2 separate regions of the Homo sapiens genome follow, and region 2 is linked to region 1. The links are contacts of gene promoters, found by promoter capture Hi-C in blood cells and fetal thymus (Javierre and others, 2016). All regions are on one chromosome and are shown on one strand. Each heading gives the region's core, a stretch centred on a gene start or on the middle of the fragment in contact. The rest is flanking DNA. Distances are from core to core; before and after follow the strand shown. Region 1 holds the start of ST8SIA3 (ST8 alpha-N-acetyl-neuraminide alpha-2,8-sialyltransferase 3). Region 2 holds the start of WDR7-OT1 (WDR7 overlapping transcript 1).

Evidence for each region. Contacts are between HindIII fragments. The CHiCAGO score rates a contact against its expected background, and 5 or more counts as called.
Region 2: a contact is called between a fragment that was not itself captured here and the fragment with the promoter of ST8SIA3 in region 1, in 1 of 17 cell types (endothelial precursors). The highest score is 5.2, in endothelial precursors.

The regions. Positions count from the first base shown.
Region 1 is chr18:57,348,456-57,354,365 of GRCh38, reverse strand. ST8SIA3 (ST8 alpha-N-acetyl-neuraminide alpha-2,8-sialyltransferase 3) reads right to left here and starts at 1,809. Exons shown (of 4, transcript NM_015879.3): 1 at 1,341-1,809. The coding sequence starts at 1,519. The HindIII fragment of the contact is 6,120 bases long and covers 1-3,166 here.
Region 2 is chr18:57,038,102-57,043,604 of GRCh38, reverse strand. WDR7-OT1 (WDR7 overlapping transcript 1) reads right to left here and starts at 3,626. Exons shown (of 3, transcript XR_001753461.2): 1 at 1,987-3,626. The HindIII fragment of the contact is 1,172 bases long and covers 1,879-3,050 here.

The sequences.
Region 1 (5,910 bases), core at 560-3,059:
CTCAGCTCGGGGAAGCCGAGGTAGCCATTAAAGTGCAGCGGCTGGGGCGAGGGCGGCTGGTACGCGTGCGGGCTCCGTTCCGTCCCGGAGCCCCTCTCATTTGGTCCACCCTCTGCTCCCACACACACCCGAGAGAAAAAAAGAAAACTAGGGAACCCCATCTGCATTGTCCATCCCTCCGGGTGCCGGAGAGACCATAAAATGGCCGTCATGCGGAGAGCAGGGCGCACGCCGGGCGCAGGGCTGGAGCCCGCGGCGCTGCGAGGACCAGGGAATCAGCACCGCGGACAGCGGCCGCCCCGCCAGCCTGACCCGCTACGCCTTTGCAGCCCCATAGAATTGTTTTTGGAGAAAGGGCAGAGGAAACCGGAGACCCAGGGAAAGTCTGGGGGTGGTTCCTGCCTTAACCTCTTCCTTCCCAAACCCACGTCCGATTTCACTTCCTATAACTTGGCTGGGGACCCCCGGGGGCCGCCGGCCTACTCCGCTCCTCGGTCCAGGCGAGGCTCCTCTGGGTTCCTCGCCTCGGTCCCAGCTTGGACCACAGGTGGCACTTTGTAGTTGCCACCTGCCCGTCAGGAGGCCCTGCTGGGAGAGTTCCCGGGGTCACAGAGCGGGGCGGGGGCTCTCGCAGAGCGGCGTCAAGCTGCGCCTGGAGCCTTCACAGGCCGGCCCAGCGCGGAGCGGTGACTCCGACCTGGCGAGGGTGGGCGGCCCTTCCGAGGCTCGCTTCCCGCAGGGGGCGGGGGAATTGCAGAAATCCCGGAAAGCTGGTGGGGGGCGGTGGCTGCGGGGGAAAGGGTTGAGAGAGAACGCCCCAGGGGCTTCCTGAGAATAAACCCGCGTGTCCTTTGATAGGCGTGGGGGAGTAAAGGAGGAGGGCGCGAGGGGAGTCCGGCGCCTGCGCCATTAAACCGCCAGCACCGCCCCGGGCCCGGCCCGCGGAGTCTGCGGACAGGGCGCGGGGAGGGCGCTCCCCTCACGCCTGTCCATCTCTGCTCGCCGCCCCCTCCCGAACAAACACACCGTCTTTCCCTCCACCCTCACCCTCCTGAAAGCCTCCCCCAACCCCCATTTCTGAAATGAGGGAAGGGATGCTGAGGAAGAATACGAGAAATGCAATCACATCGATTTGGACAGCGGCTTCTAGGGGCTTTGGGTTAAAAAAAAAATAACAGGGAGGGGGAAGGGAGAATTAGAGAGAGGAGTGGAAGGACCGCGCAGTTATCTGGCCCAAAGAGTCTCGGAGAGGCCAAAACACCCCTCCCCCACGCCTTCCCTTCCCCAAACACCCCATCAACCAAATTCCCGAGGGCACTAACACAGAGGCCCGCACTCACCGGAATCCCGCGTGGAACATGTACATTCGGGGCGCCCCCGGGCTGGCGTACTTGGGAGTGGTGAAGATGTTCTCCTTTTTCAGGGACACGTAGCTGATGAGCGATAAAATCAGCAGGGCGACGCTGAGCATGACCAGCCCCAGCACACTGGCGACCCGGGCCATTTTGCAGTTTCTCATCCCGGGCTGGGCTGGGTTCAGGGAAACCGGGGAAATCGGTCCATTGAGCGGCCAGCAGCTCGCTGGCGTGTATATATGTGTGTGTGTGTGTGTGTGTGTGTGTGTGTGTGTGTGAGCGCGCGCGCGTGTGGCGGAGGAGGGGGACCCGGGCGGGGGTGGGGGGAGGCCACCGGGGCCGGGGGTTGGGGCTGGCAGGAGCCCCGGAGAGCAGCGGGACCCCGTAGGCAGGGGCGCGCGGGGCCCGGTGCCGAGCAGGAAGATGGAGGGGCTGCGCGGCGGCGTGGCGAAGGAGCGCGCAGCGCCGTGCGTCCCCGGCCGCCGGCTCAGGCTCCCCCGCGCGTTTCCAGCGAGGCTGCCATCTCCTCCGCCGCCTGCAAGATAAATGTGATTGGAATAATGTTACAGTTCGATCTAAGCACAGGATTTAATTAATGAACTCTAATCTCCCAAATAACCGGGGGGAGGGGGTGCAGGAGAGGGAGGGAGTAGAGGGAAATGGTGGAGGGAGGGGGACTGAGGCTGCCAGGCTGCAGCCCGAGCCTACGGCCTCCCCGGCTGAGGGTGCCGGCGAGGAGGTGGCTGTGGGGAGACGGGATCCCAAACTTAGTTTAATGGACCATTCATTACTTTATAATATCACGGAATAGAGAGACAAATAACCGGATTTGCTGTCCTGGAGGGTAAACAACAGCTGGGTGCTTCTCAAAGAAGCAGGGAGGATGGTTTTTGGAAGGCAGCTATTTAAAAGCATCTCCCCTCGTTAAGGCACCGCCCCGGCCCCCTGCCCCCGCCATCCTCCCACCCCAAAGGAAGCTCCAAACAGCAACTGGGCCTGCCTGCCTCGGGAGCCCTTAAAACCTTCTTGGAATTTGCCAGAATGACTCCCCTGTGCGCCTTGTATGCCCACCACATACTTCACTTATCCCTAAAGGGTGGGTAGTGCCTAGCAAAGTTGCGAGGTGACCTGTGAGTCGGGAGGGCCTGCCTTCCTCTCCCCTTTCCGTCTTCCAGTGGATGGACAATGTGCTTGCCCCTGACTTGACTGGGCCTGTTGAAGTCAGCCCTGGTTTAACTCTCCGTTGCCCACTCTTCAGATCCATCCTTCGGGCCTGGTCTCCTGATGGGCTAGGTGGCCTGAGCCTCCCAAAAGCTGAGGCCATTAAAAAACACAGAACTTTTTATGAAGCAGCCCAAGAACCAAATAATAGAGGCTGCCTCTGAGAGTGGAAGGCAAACGCACTAACACTTTGCATTGCTTGACCTTAAATTTATTTTAGCATATTCACGTGTTTCTTGTATATCCATTAGAAATACAAATTAATCCATTTTCAGTCATGCAGTTGGGTGCTCAGGGGAAACTAGCATGTTTCTTTAGCTCTGTCCTTTGCAATTAGCTTATGGCCTCTGCTACCCTAGCTTTACTCTTCGCTTGGTCCTCCCAATACTAGTTAATAAGCACTAATGAGGGAAGCTAGGGGTGAGAAATTGGCGTTTGAGTTCTGATAAAACAAGTTGAGATTCTTCCAAGATGGTTATGACTTCTTTCTCTCCTGAACTTCTTGCCTTGTAGGCTTTCATGGACCTAATGTTATTATCTGTCTGGAGGCTGTAAATTCCTTGAAGGGGTGAGCTCCTGGATTGTAAGCTTCGGCAGAGCAAGGCTTGTCTTACTTCTCCAATACTGTCTCTTACACATGTCATGCTTGCTAAATGTTTGAAGACCTGATGAGCTCCCTTGGGAAACATATCTGTGTGGTTGTGGACAGTGGCACAAAGAATGCTCCTATTTGTTTCCAGTGACAAAGGGGGTCACTTTGCACCCACTAGAGACTTTTTAACCAAAATCTAAAAGTGTGTGTCAGGAGGACACAAATAACCTCCTTTCCTCTGTGGGGCTTTTTTATTATTTAAAAAAATTTAGAAAAGGCTTGCATGCCTGGATATGATGAACACTTGAACTGTATTTTTTTAAATTGCTATTTTTTAAAAATGATTGTATGAGTAAGGTGTAAAATGCCAAAGGGAGTAAGATCTTAAGAGAGCCATCTAGGAATGACACCTGTTAGAAAAAGTCTTCTTGAACCAGAAATCAGGAAACATGCTATGGAGAGGCAGCCTGGGGTAGTGTTACACCTTCAGACTGTGGAGCCAGAAAGACCTGACTTCAAAAGCATACTCTGGGTATTATCAAAAACACAAAAAATAACAAATGCTGGCAAGGATGCAGAGAAAAGGGAACTCGTATACACTGTTGGTGGGAATGCATTCTAGTACAGCCACTATGGAGAACAGTACAGAGGTACCTGAAAAAAACTACAAACTGAACTATTATAAGATCCAGTATTCCCATGACTGGGCGTTTATGCAAAGGAACGGAAATCAGTATGTCAAAGAGATATCTACCACCATGTTTATTGCCACATTGTTCACAATAGCCAAGATATGGATCAACCCAAGTATTCAACAACAGATGAATGGATAAAGAAAATGTGGTATATATACATAAAGGAATCCCATTCATCCATAAGTAAGAATGAAATTCTGTCATTCTCAGCAACAGGAATGAGCCTGGAGGACATTATGTTAAGTGAAATAAGCCAGGAACAGAAAGTTAAACACCGCATGTTCTCACTCATACACAGAAGCTAAAAAAGCTGATCTCAAAGAAGTAAAAAGTAGAACAGAGAATACTAGAGGCTGGGAAGTGTACGGGGGAGAGAGGATAAAATATTTATTAAAGGATACAAAATTACAGCTGGATAGAAGGAATAAGTTCTAGTGTTCTATAGCACTATAGGATGACTATAGTTACAATAATGTATTGTATATTTTCATATACCTAGAAGAGAAGATATTGAATGCCCCAAAACAAAGAAATGATACAAGTTTGAAATGACAAATATGCTAATTACCCTGATGGGATCACTATGTATTGTATGTATCAAAATATCACTATGTACCTATATATGTATGATTATTATGTATCAATTAAAATAAATGCTTACTCTGGCATCCACAGCCAGGTGACCTTGGGTAAGTTACAACTTCTCTGTGTTTCAGTCTGCTAATCTGCAGAACTGGGATAAAAATCTCCCAGGGTTTGGGGGAAGATTAAACAAAGCATATAAAGGCCTTTGCACCCTGGCCTATATTAAGCAGTTAATAAATATGAGCTAACAGCTTGGGTAAGTTTTTAGTGTCTTTTTCTCTGACCCTGTAAATGTCCTGCTACAGAGTGCATACGAAAGGATGTACTTAGGTGAGATATTTTCTTGCAGAGAATAGCAAAGATCAAGAAACTCTTCTGTTCCCTTTATAAAACAGCATTGCAGGCTTTCCTGAGACATCTGATATGGGTTCGCTCTGCCTGGATTTAAAAACTGATGTATTACTTATGCTTAGCACACCTCTGTGAACCTTCTAAAGAAAGTCCTAGGAGGACGATTTTCATATTGCATACAGGCCACTGAAGGTCACATGATGTAAAGGGACCAAATTAGCCAGAAAATAAACAGGCAGGCAGGCATCCTTATTACATGTGACAGGCTTATGGGTGAAAACGGATTGCTCAATAATTACCAGGGGAATAATTTTGGTGGCGGTGCTTCAAAAAACAACTGTAGCTACTGGATAAGGGATTTTTCAGGCCTGGGATTATAGCTATTTAATAATTAAAAAAAATCAGGACATTTTAACAAAATATCACTTATCAAATTTCATTGGAAATCAATCCTGTGCAAGAGTATAGGCGAGTGAAAATAAGAAGCACAGAAATGAAAAATCCCCCAGATGTAATGTTTTCTAGGAGAGTGTTATTCTAGACATAGGAACTTACTTCCCTTCTTCCACTCTCATGAGTGCCCACCTTTTGCGAACATGACTCTGCTCCCTGGCTAGCCCCTCACCAACCCATACTGGCCAAGAACAATTTCCAGGAACCCATTTAGGTGGGAAGGCCAGGAAAGGTGGTGTATTTTGTTAGAAACAACATTGTTCCTTTGGGAGGCAGAGGCGGGCAGATCACTTGAGGTCAGGAGTTTGAGACCAGCCTGGCCAATGTGATGAAACCCTGTCTCTACTAAAAATACAAAAATTAGCCTAGTGCAGTGGTGGGCCCCTGTAATCCCAGCTACTCAGGAGGCTAAAGAAGGAGAATCACTTGAACCCAGGAGGCAGAGGTTGCAGTGAGCCGAGACTGCGCCACTGCACTCCAGCCTGGGTGATAGAATGAGGCTGTCTCAAACAAAACAAAACAAAAAGAGCATTGTTTATTCATTCATTTATTTCTGTTTTCTTTAATTATTCATGCAATGAAATGTGTTGGTTATCAGACACCATGCTTGGCAGACTCAGGGGTTATAAAATCATCCTTGACCCCACGATGCTTATGG
Region 2 (5,503 bases), core at 1,215-3,714, 310 kb after region 1:
ACCTTAGTGCACCCCTGTGCAAGAGGCCTGGGCTTCCACCTTGGGACACAGTGAATGGTGGTGCCCAGAGCCAGTCCCAGCCTGGTGCCTAATGAAACTATCAACAGCACCTGTGAGGTTCCACATGGACTCCTGTGAAGTGTTTCTTAAACTGTAGGTGCACACGAATCATCCAGGAAGCTTGCCAAAATGCAGTTGTGACCCAGGAGGTCTGGGTGTGACCTAAGGTTTTACATTTCTAAATAGCTCCCAGGGGATATGGATGCGGCTGGTGCCCAGACCACACTTTGCTTTTTAGTTTTTGTTTTTGTTTTTGTTTTAATTATACCTTAAGTTCTGGGATACATGTACAGAACGTGCAGGTTTGTTACATAGGTATAGGAATACCTGTGCCATGGTGGTTTGCTGCACCCATCAGCCCGTCATCTACATTAAGTATTTCTCCTAATGCTATCCCTCCCCTTGCCCTCCACCCCCGACAGGCCCTGGGGTGTGATGTTCCCCTCCCTGTGTCCATGTGTTCTCATTGTTCAACTCCCACTTATGAGTGAGAACATGTGGTGTTTGTTTTTCTGTTCCTGTGTTAGTTTGCTGAGAATGATGGTTTCCAACTTCATCCCTGTTCCTGCAAAGGACATGAACTCATCCTTTTTTATGTCTGCATAGTATTCCATGGTGTATATGTGCCACATTTTCTTTATCCAGTCTATCATTGCTGGACATTTGGGTTGGTTCCAAGTCTTTGCTATTGTGAACCATGCTGCAATAAACATACATGTGCATGTGTCTTTATGGTAGAATGATTTATAATCCTTTGGGTATATACCCAGTAATGGGATTGCTGGGTCAAATGGTATTTCTGGTTCTAGATCTTTGAGGAATCACCACACTGCCTTCCACAATGGTTGAACTAGTTTACAGTCCCACCAACAGTGTAAAAGTGTTCCTATTTCTCCACATCCTCTCCAGCATCTGTTGTTTCGTGACTTTTTAATGATCGCCATTCTAACTGGCATGAGATGGTATCTCATTGTGGTTTTGATTTTCATTTCTCTAAGTGATCATGAACTTTTTTTCATGTGTTTGTTGGCCACAGAAATGTCTTTTTTTGAGAAGTGCCAGACCACACTTTGAATGGTATGGCTGTAGCTCAGGAGTCAGTCACCAGTGTGGACTGAAAGTTTGTGTCCCCTCAAAATACATACATTAAAACCTAATCACCAAAGCAACAGTATTGGGAGATGGGAACATTGGGAGTTGATTAGGCCATGAGGGCAGAGCCCTAGTAAATGAGATTAGTGCCCTCATAAAAGAGGCCCCAGAGAGCTCCCTCACCCCTTCCACCATGTGAGGCCACAGCAGGAAGATGCATTCTGTGACCAGGAACTGGGCCCTCACCAGACACTGAACCTGCCCATGCCTTGATCTTGGACTCCCCAGCTTCCACAACTGTAAGGAATAAAGTTCTGTTGTTTATAAGCCACCCAGCTTATGGCAGTTTGCTATAGCAGCCAAAATGGACTAAGACAGCCACCTTGTCTGCTGAAGGGCCAGATAGTAAATATTTTAGGCTTTGTGGGCTAAGAGGCAAAATTGAGAATATTGCACAGAGAGAAAACAAATTTCCACACATTTTTTCTTGATGAAATTCAAAATATAATAATTGAATACATTTTTTTTTGGTAATTTTAGGAGTTCAGTAAGGGGAAAATCACCCTAAGCAGGTTTTCAACATGAGGAATGTAGACTCTACCCTTTTCTACCCAGACTCTTCTTTGTTATCTAATACCATATTTTACAAACAGCAAGAAATATAAGCCCCAGGAAGTGAAACAACAAGAATTGTTTCCAGTGCATTTCTGAGCCGGCAATGAAGCTTAGCCTTTGTCTTCAAGAAATAGATCCAATGTGACAGACACTGCAGCTTTGTATTTTTTGACTAAGTTATTAACCAATACATTTGAAGTAATTCAGCCTTCTACTCACCCTGTGGCTTGTCATGTGGGATGGTGTTCTGAGGGTTAACGTAAATACAGTTCGTAGAGGTGCGTCTCACTCCTGGAGCTGGTGTTCCTGACTGAGGGACTGCAAGTCTGAATAGTGTAAATGGAATCTGACTTCCCCACGGCAGCAATGCTATAATGTGGGATTATGTGAATGGGAATTTTCTGTGGAAGGATCCTACCTGCGAAGGGAACAGTAGCAGTGAAGGAATCAAGGTGTGAACATGGATGATGTTTTCCAAGAATGTGAGTATTCTGGACTGGCAAATGCCATTGGTCCCCCATCTCTCGCACTGGGGAACCCTGGGCTTCTGCCTCCTTCCTGACATTTCACTCACCAACTCCTCTAACTCCTGCCTCTTACATGTCCCTTGGCCCTTCCTTTTGGTGTCCATCACACCTGCAATAGTTTGAGTTCTCAGAATCTCTAGATGTGCAGCCATCCCTGGCCTCCCTGTCACAACGATCTCCATTTTCTAAACTATGATGCATCCTGCCACCAGGTTTAGCCAAGATATGGGATCATTGTTGCCCTGAAAATCATTGAGAACTCTCCAGACCTCTCAGGAAACAGCCTAGCTCCGTGTCACTGGCTACAAAGATCTTCATGCTGGCTTCAGCTCATGAGTTTGAATCACTTCATGCCATGTCACTGTACACTGTACAGTCTGTTTTCAAGGGTTGGCTGCAAGGGGCTCAGCCAGTGGGGAAGATGATTATATCATATGACAGGAGAAAGAGGTGGGTGTCTGCAGGGCTGGCTCCTCTAGAAGCCCAGTGATGTCACTGAGGATTTACCCCAGTAAGTTGGCTTGAGCCAAGGTGGGTTCCAACATAGGCCCAAAATGGCTTGTGGGTTCCCAGGTATCACAGATTCACACAGCTATGTCCACAGATAGAAACTTCTACGTGAATGTCTCTTTTCACTGGGGAGGAAAACCTTTCCCAAGAGCACCCCCCTCCCACCTCATGGGCCAGAATGGCACTGAAGGCCTTACTTATACCACTAGGCACTGCATGAGCTTGCTGGCTTGAATTAATCAAGCTTCCATTTCCAAGGCTGATAAACTCCAGCCTGAGCACATGGTCATTGGTGCAAAGAACAGAGCCAAGCCCAGGCTTAGAAGCATGGAATAAAGGGGAACATGGCTCTGGGTAAGGGACTGGCTACATCTGCTGCTCCCTGAAAACATCACCTGCCTTCACAGTTCCATGCCTTCAGTCACGTCTCCCCTTTGTCTGAATGTTCTTCCACCCTGGGAAACTCCTATTCATCTTTCAAGATTCAGCCATAATGCCACCACCGCTGCAGTGTGACTGTGTTGGGAAACTCCAAGTGGCAGAGAGCTGCAGGAAGCCTCTAGGCTCCAGCCAACAGCCTGCAAGGGCCTCCAGTGACAGCCAGCGAGAAAGTGAGGCCCCCAGTCCTACAAGCAGAAGAAATTGAATTCTGCCAACAATGACATGAACTTTGAAGCAAATTCTCTCCCTCACAAGCCTCAGATGGGACCATAGACCCAGCCAGCACCTTGATTGCAGCCTGTGAGAGATCTTGAGGCCAAGGCTCCTGGCTAAGCCTAGGCTGGATGCCTGGTTCCGAGAAGCTGTAATGCCATAAATATGTGTGTGTGTGCATGCGCGTGTGTGCATGCGCATGTGTGCATGCAAGTGTGTGTGTGCGTGTGTGTGTGTACGTGTGTGTGTGTGTGTTTTGAGACAGAGTCTCACTCTGTCGCCTAGGCTGGAGTGCAGTGGTGCCATCTTCGTTCACTGCAACCTCCGCCTCCCAGGTTCAAGTGATTCTCCTGCCTCAGCCTCCCAAGTAGGTAGGATTATGGGTGTGTACCACCACACTCAGCTAATTTTTGTATTTTTAGTAGAGATGGGGTCTCACCATATTGGCCAGGCTAGTCTTGAACTCCTGACCTCAAGTGATCTGCCTGCCTCAGCCTCTCAAGGTGCTGGGATTACAAGCATGAGCCACTGCACCCGGGCAAATGTGTTTTAAGAAGTTTGTGCTAATATTGTTACTGTATAGATAATTAACAAACCCCGTTTCCCCCAACCCACTCCAACCCATTCTCCACATTGCAGCTGAGTGGTGTTTTCTAGCTAAATTAAATCACACCTTTCAACTCACAATTTTTGGATGGTTTTTGAGTCCCCTAAGAGTGCCCTTGACCATTGTCTACAGGATTCAATACTGTCCAGATGCCTCACTTGTGGCCACACCTGGCTCATTACCTGCTGTCACTCTCCCTTCTGCCTCAGGGACCTCACACGTGCTATTTTCTTCTCTAGAAGCTCTTCCCGCTTCCAACTGCTCCACCAACATCCAGCTCCTTATCTTCCTTCAGAGACCCCGGGTTGACCTTGCCCACTCCTTCCCTGGGCTATTGGGTCTCAGCTGCCCTTGTTTCCGTCACTGCTCATGTTACAATTTGTGGCTGGCTTAGTCCCCACCCCAGCCCACTAGACTGTGAGCCCATAAGGGCAGGTGTCACAACTGTTGCCTTCCCCACTACAATCCCAGCACCTAGTTCTCTGCCTGATGCATGGTAGATGTTCACTAGATATTTACCAGATGAATGAATGGGCTTAATTCTCATCGGAATCTACCAGAATGTATATGTTCCAGTGAATGTTTATCTTAATGTCTCCTGACTCTACAGTCAGAGGAGACATTCCCAAGGCTGATGCTCATTTCTTTTCTCTGTCCCCTCCTCCTTTGTGCTCCCATTGTATGCTTCAGGCTTGAATCACATGTCCTGGGGAGGAAGGCTGTGGACTAGAGCTGGAAGAGGAAAAAAAAGGAATGAAATCAGGGATGGATGGAGCTCAGGTGGCTGGGATCCAGGGAGGGACGGCTGAAGAAGGAAGCACTGAAGGAAGCAGACAGAGGCCTGGGATGCCAGGGAGGTGACCCAGAACCCAGTGCCTGTGTGCATAGTGCGTGTATCTGGCTATGCACAACCATTGAGGATTGCTCCAAGTTAAACCATCAGAAGGAGGGGCTGCGGGCGTGTGTACACTATGGATAATGGGCCTCACAACATCCAGCGCATTAGCTAGATAGCCTTTGAGATGCATAAAGGATGTGAGTGCCTGCACTGTATTAATTTCACCGTTGCTAGAAATGCCTGGAAAATAATAGGCATTCAATAAGTCACTGTGGAATAAATAAATGAAGATTGAATTTTGAGGTCCTTGGTTTTTTATTGAGGTCAATATGAGAATAAAGCATGTCTCTTTCGCTACTATAAAGCTGGCCTTGATGATAGCGTCCATTGATGGAGAGGAAAGAGCACTTTGGATTTTAATCCCAACTCTACCACTTTACTAGCTGTGTGACCTTAGGCCAGTTACTTAACCTGTCAGTGTATCAGTTTTCTAACCTATACAATGTGGGCTAATTCAGAATTATTGAGAGACTTAAGTGAAATTACATATGTCAAATGCCTCACATGGGCTCCAAGCACATCTGGATCCTCAATCCCTTC